2 separate regions of the Homo sapiens genome follow, and region 1 is linked to region 2. The links are contacts of gene promoters, found by promoter capture Hi-C in blood cells and fetal thymus (Javierre and others, 2016). All regions are on one chromosome and are shown on one strand. The core of a region is centred on a gene start or on the middle of the fragment in contact, and the rest is flanking DNA. Distances in the headings are between cores, read along the strand shown.

Region 1 (3,339 bases), core at 497-2,996, 390 kb before region 2:
AACAAAACAAAAAAGTATTGTGTATCCATTAGTTGAATCGCTGCAAAGGTAAACATTCATTCATTCATTAAGCAAGCATAGATTGAACACCTTCTCCATGTCGGACACTGTGGTAGGATCTGGTGATTCAAAGATGAACAGCTGTCCCTGTTTCTAAGTTGCCTGTAGTCCAGTGATTACTCTCAGGTTTCTGTCTCAGGTGTCCGTGTGGAGAGACTGCCAAACAGGCTTTATGTGAGCAACAAGGCTGTTGATTTCACCTGGGTGCAGGCGGGCTGAGTCCAAAAAAGGAGTCAGCAAAGGGTGGTGGGATTATCATTGGTTCTTATAGGTTTTGGGATAGGCGGTGGAGTTAAGAGCAATGTTTTGGGGGCAGTGGGTGGATCTCAGAAAGTACATTCTCAAGGGTGGGGAGAATTACAAAGAAACTTCTTAAGGGTGGGGGAGATTGTAAAGAACCTTCTTAAGGGTGGGGGAGATTACAAAGTACATTGATCAGTTAGGTTGGGGCAGAAACAAATCACAATGGTGGAATATCATCAGTTAAGTCGATTTTCACTTCTGTGAATCTTCAGTTGCTTCAGGCCATCTGGATGTATATGTGCAGGTCACTGGGGATATGATGGCTTAGCTTGGGCTCAGAGGCCTGACAGTTTCTATTAATATTTGTATTTCATTGAGAACAATGGGAACCATTGGTGTCTGCCATTTGGGAAGTGGAAGAGATGCTTAGACAGATAAGGGAGCAGAGGTCTAGACGAGGTGTAGAGAGGGTCAGAAACCAGGTTGGGGTTCCTAACTCCCAAGCCACGTCCCCAGCCACCTACCGCAGTCACTGTCTTGCCCTCCCATTCCTATTGGATAAAAGCTTTGGAGATAAGACAAGCCTGGTTCATCACGGTTGAGTCTCTAAACCTAGATATGCAGAGGTTCCCTGGAATTGCTTCTTGAGTCCCTGATTAATTCAGCTCTTGACATCACAAGATGAACTCACTCTTTGGTGAATTGCACAGACTTTTGAAAACTATGTTTCCGCTGCGCTAAAGTCTAGGAGCGGGCTCCTTAGCCTGAAGGATGCCTGTTTCAATGGGACGTGACAGCTGCTTTCAAACATTTAAGGGCGAGCACCTGTTGTTGGAGGGGGATGCAGGCTTAACCCATGTGCAGCAACAGAAAGAGACAAGGGGGCATTTCCAGGAAGATCAACTCAGCTTAGTGTAAGCAATGTCTTTCTAGCCAGTAGCGCCATCTGATAATGGAGCAAACAGCTTGGAGCCAAAGAGCCAGAGGTCTAAGCTGAGGATCCCAGGACTCTTCAACAGGGGTTTGTGGATTCAGTGGGAAGCTGGCCCAAGAGCTTTCAAGGGCCTTGGAGTGACCACCTGATTTGTCCCTTTGCACAGTTTGCCTGGTGCTGCACTTAGAGCTTCACTCTGTGAAGGGCATAGAACACCAACACTCTTCTCATGGCAAGGATGGGCTTTTGCTCCTGTTTCTTTTCTTTTTTCTTTTTTTTTTTTTGAGACTGAGTCTTGCTCTATCACCCAGGCTGGAATGCAGTGGCGCAATCTCGGCTCACTGCAACCTCCGCCTCCCAGGTTCGAGCTATTCTCCTGCCTTGGCCTCCCGAGTAGCTGGGATTACAGGCACCTCTTACCATACCTGGCTAATTTTTGTATTTTTATAGAGATGGGGTTTCACCACATTGGTCAGTCTGGTCTTGAACTCCTGAGCTAAAGTGATCTGCCTGCCTCAGCCTCCCAAAGTGCTGGGATTACAGGCGTGAGCCACTGCGCTCGCCTCCTGTTCCTTTTTCATCCACGCTTTGGAAGAAGATGGTGTCAGGGTCATAGAAGACCCTTAGAGAGGAGACATGGGGTGGGGTGGTTTAGGCATTAGTAGTGGCCATGTTTCCCCTACCCTGAATGGGGCTTTGCCCAGGGCTGTTCCATCGGGTTTATCTGGGCCTCACAGACGTCTAGAGTTTTCTTCATCTTGTTGTGTCTGGGTCTGCACAATACTGAGGAATTGTCTGGCAAGAAACAAAGCTACTCATGTTCTAGGACATAGTTCCATGGCTAAGCATGAAAACAAGCAAGATCCAAGTGTTCAAGGGCCCCTGCAACCCTGACATGCCTCCTAGGTGGCTGGCCATGTCTGCATGGGGTCACTGCGGCCCAGGACTCAGACTTTCCTCTAGAAGTTGGTTTTGGCAGTGTACCCAGGGAGACTGAGTCACCAAGCAAACTGGTAAGAGAATGCAGATAAACGTGGTTCACTTCCAGGAGGATCACAACTGCCAGCAGAGAGTATTCGGGGGGCTCCCCGCAGAATTCTCTTGGGGGAGAAGGTAGGTGGGAGTTAGGGGCCATTGTGTGTGGCGAGGCAGAGAAGGGAGAATTCGGGCTACTGTCCTGGCTGCTCTGGCAGAGCCAAGGTGGTGTGATACGTGAGTTTCTCAGTCCATTTTCCATTCACTTATTCTCATGGCAGATGGTGATCTCCTTTGGGGAGGTGAGGCCCGTCACTACTTAATGTGGCAAGGTTGCGGGTTCCAACATCCTGCTCTTTTTCTACTCTACCCCTCCCCTTGTTTTCAAGACTTTGAGAGGAATTTTCCAGAATCAAGCTTTCTGGCTCTCCTTCCTCTTTTGCTTTCATAAGGACAAACACTATTCGGGGGAGAGGGCGGGAGAGATATTGAGAGCCAAGGCACATGAGACAGCACGGGCAGCAGGGTGCTGCCTCGTGAGCTTGCCTTTTTTTTTTTTTTCTTTTTTGAGATGGAGTCTCGCTCTGTCTCCTAGGCTGGAGTGCACTGGTGCAATCACAACTCACTGCAGCCTCCACCTCCCGGTTCAAGCGATTCTTCCACCTCAGCCTCCCAAGTAGCTGGGACCACAGGCGCCTGCTACCACACCCGGCTAATTTTTTGTATTATTTTTTGTAGAGATGGTGGATTAGTCAGGGTTCTGTAGAGGGACAGAACTAATAGGATAGATGTATATATAAGGGGAGTTTATTAAGGAGCATTGACTCCCACGATCACAAGGTGAGGTCCACAATAGGCCGTCTGCAAGCTGAGGAGCAAGGAAGCCAGTCCAGGTCCCAAAACCTCAAAAGTGGGAAGTTAATAGTGCAGCCTTCAGTCTGTGGTCAAAGGTCCAAGAGTCCCAAAGCTGAAGAATTTGGAGTCTGATGTTTGAGGGCAGGAAGCATTCAGCACAGGAGAAAGATGTAGGCGCAGAGACTAAGCCAGTCTAGTCTTTCCACGGTCTTCTGCCTGCTTTTGTTCGGGCCCTGCTGGCAGCTGATTAGATGGTGTCCACCCAGACGGAG
Region 2 (3,211 bases), core at 222-2,721:
GATTAAGCATCCGCAGTAAGCCTGCCATTTTACAAGGGTTACCAAAGATAAGTTAGGGAAAATATGAAGATGATGATTCACAAGGTCGGGGTGTGGGGTGGGGTGGGGGACCCAGGACCTTAGGAATAGGGCTTGTCTATCACACAGCCTCGGGCAAGAAGGGCCCAGTGGGGACCATGGCTTCTAGGGAGCAAACCAAGGGAAAAGAGCAACGGAGTGGACCCTCCAGGCTTCTTGCCTCTCTCACGGAGCCTCACGAATCCCAGTGGTTTAGAATTTTCTTTGGCAAAAGAAAAGGTCAAAGAGGCCGGAGTTGACAGAAAGCATGGGCGGACTTCTCAGATCTTGTAGGTGGTTCTTAAAAGAATTCAGCAGGCTTGAGGTGTGCTCTCAAAGGGCAACTGGAACGTCAAGGACTTGGACACCAGGCACAGATGGTTCATTTCCCATGGACAGGAAGAGGGCACGGAGTGCTCCCTCTTCCCTCCACCTTCTCCAGCCTAGTCCCCCTCAGCCTGTGCCACTCCTGAATCATCTTTTATAGCACCACGTCCAGCCCGCACAGGGGCAGGACAGCCCAGGGAACAAGGCAGTCCTGTGGCGCTCTCCTTGCAGAAATGACCGGAGTCTCCCAATCCAGCCAGCCCGTGGACCTCTCTTCATGCCCACGGGGGAGTGCACACGCCTGTAGCATTCAACAGTCACTCTCCCATTGATAACGGTGGCTCTCGAAAATCCAATACCACAAAGATACTTTATTGCACAAACTTTGCTTGGTTAACCTGGCCCTCAAAGCTGGGGAATAACCTCACTTGAGGCTACAGGAATGAGCACGCAGATTTTTCTTTTTTTTTTTTTTTTGGTATCTTTCAAAGACCTGCCTCCCCCTCCCCCAGGCCCTTGACCAGAAACTTGGCTTGTTTAGAAGCCTGAGCAATGGCACCCCCGTCCGTGCTCCAATACATTCCCAGAAAAGGGGTTATGCTCCCCTGTGGACAGGATACCATCTCCAGAAAACATGTTTCCTCACGCATTTTTTTTTTTTTTTTTTACCAAGAATACAAAAACTTTCCACCTTCTTCCCTCCCCGCAGGCCCCCTTTCGTTCAGGTGAGAAGGAAAAGGGAGAAGAAAGGAGGAAGCGCCCCCAGGCCGGCGGCCCCCACCCGGCTAAGGTCGCCAGCATCCCGCATCCCGTGCGACCTGCGTCCCAGAAACCCAGCGGGGAAATTCTTCCCGGTGCGCTCTTGCGCCCGCTTGGTTCCATTTCCTACTCCGCCTGCTCACCCGGCAGCCCTCACCCCTTCCCGGAGGCTCTCCGAGGGGCCCGGGTAGCCCTTCTCGCCACGGGTCTCGGCCCCTCCAGCCCGCTCCCTCCCGGCGGCGGCGCGGGGCGCGGGGCCCTACCTGGAGCGAGCACGGCGCCGCTGCTGCCCGGTGGCGCTGGGACTGCGCGGGGACTGCGCGGGGACTGCGCGGGGACTGGCGGGGCTGGCGGGGCTGGCGGGGCTGGCGGGGCTGGCGGGCCCGGCGCACTGCGGGTGCGCCTAGAAGGCGGTGCCCGCCAGGGGGCGCTCGCCAGCCTCCCCGCCAGCCCGGCCTCCCGGGACCCGGCACCTCTAGCCAGGGACGCGCGCTCGGTCCCCCGCCGTGCGCCCCCGGTCCCGCGCCCAGGCTCCCGCCCCTGGCCTCCTTACCAGCCACTTGTCGCCCAGCTGCGAACTGGAGCGGGAGGCGGCGGCCGGAGGGCCCAGGACAGCCCCGGGAGGGCGGCGAGGCGGAGCAGGAGCGCCCCGGCTCCGGCCACATTCTCAGAGTCAGGAAAAGGGGCGAGAGGCCACATGTCTCCCTCTCGCCCAACTGAAAACGAAACGGCGCTCCAGCAGATTGGGTGGAAAGAGCTGGGTCTCTTTTCTCTGTTTTTCACGCTAGAAAGGGCTTGTAAACATTGTTCCTTTTAAAATGACCTACCCCAGGCATTTGTTTGGGCACACTTCTGTCCTGGGGTCATCGTTCCTAGGTGGCTTCGGACCTGGGACTTTTCCTGTATCTGCACATTGTCGTTTTATACACAATTGCCAAGGTGGGACTGCTTTCAACTTTACTGTGCTTGAAGCTGCAAAGGTAATGTTGCCGCCGTGCGTGTCATTTTAGGACTTTTTATGCCTTGCGGGTAATACTAATGATGGTCACAGGGAGGATAAACGGGGTGGTTTCTTTTTCTATACTCCATGTAACTAATTTCTCATTCAGGTTAGAAAATTATATGTCTGGTTACTAATATTCTTACTGAATGGTTTCCTTGCAATGATGACACCAAATAATTAAAACGTACTTGATTAAGACTTTTGTTGCTGTAGTGTACTAAGATCAGATTAATCTGAGAAGTAAAATAGTAATTTTTTGTCCTTTTTTCTTTTCTTGTTTTGAGAGAGACATTAAAAACGATTAAAACAAAACAAAACAGGCCAGGTGCGGTGGCTCATGCCTGTAATGCCAGCACTTTGGGAGGCTGAGGCGGGTGGATCGCTTGAGGCTGGGAGTTTGAGACCAGCCTGGCCAACATGGCAAAATCGTGTCTCTCCTAAAAATACAAAAATTAGCTGGGTGTTGTGGCACGTGCCAGTAATCCCAGCTACTCAGAAGGCTGAGGCAGGAGAATCGTTTGAACCTGGGAGGAGGAGGTTGCAGTGAGCTGAGATCTCACCACTGCACTGCAGTCTGGGTGACAGCAAAACTCTGCCTCAAAAAAAAAAAAGGTTTAACAAAAGCCAAAAGTTGAATTAGCAGCCTTCTGATCATGGGAATGTAGGATGTCAACTAAAAAGAACCTCAGAGGTTGGGAAGGCAGATGAAAAACTGAGGCCCCGAAGTGTTTCAAGACTTGATTAAATCACTCAGGTCTGCACTAGGAAGCGAGTTATGATGATGCCCCTAATCTATATGAACCCAAATAAAGCCAAAACACACACACCTTTTAAGGATAAAACTATATTCCATTAAAATTAGCCCCGCATTTGTCAATATCTAACAGCATTGGACTGACCCTCAGGCCAGAGGCTGTAGCTCTTGGAAGATCCTAGCCAGGAGGTTTGAGAGTGGCCAGTACCTCGGAAGTGCTGGCTCACTCTGACATCATCAGAACCTGGCATACAGTAGGCGCTCATTGGGTATTTGCTATGGAAATTAGGCAGGAAAGTGCGTCTGTGTCT

Evidence for each region. Contacts are between HindIII fragments. The CHiCAGO score rates a contact against its expected background, and 5 or more counts as called.
Region 1: a contact is called between a fragment that was not itself captured here and the fragment with the promoter of PRKCQ in region 2, in 1 of 17 cell types (non-activated CD4 T cells). The highest score is 5.0, in non-activated CD4 T cells.

What each region holds. Positions count from the first base shown.
Region 1 is chr10:6,193,370-6,196,708 of GRCh38, forward strand. It overlaps a transcript of PFKFB3 not described here. Among named protein-coding and RNA genes, the nearest start is that of PFKFB3-AS1, 7.7 kb to the right of the region's middle. The HindIII fragment of the contact is 1,761 bases long and covers 867-2,627 here.
Region 2 is chr10:6,578,805-6,582,015 of GRCh38, forward strand. PRKCQ (protein kinase C theta) reads right to left here and starts at 1,472. Exons shown (of 18, transcript NM_006257.5): 1 at 1,407-1,472. PRKCQ-AS1 (PRKCQ antisense RNA 1) reads left to right here and starts at 1,621. Exons shown (of 2, transcript NR_036503.1): 1 at 1,621-2,123. RefSeq lists silencers at 1,474-1,723, 1,734-1,883. The HindIII fragment of the contact is 7,587 bases long and covers 1-3,211 here.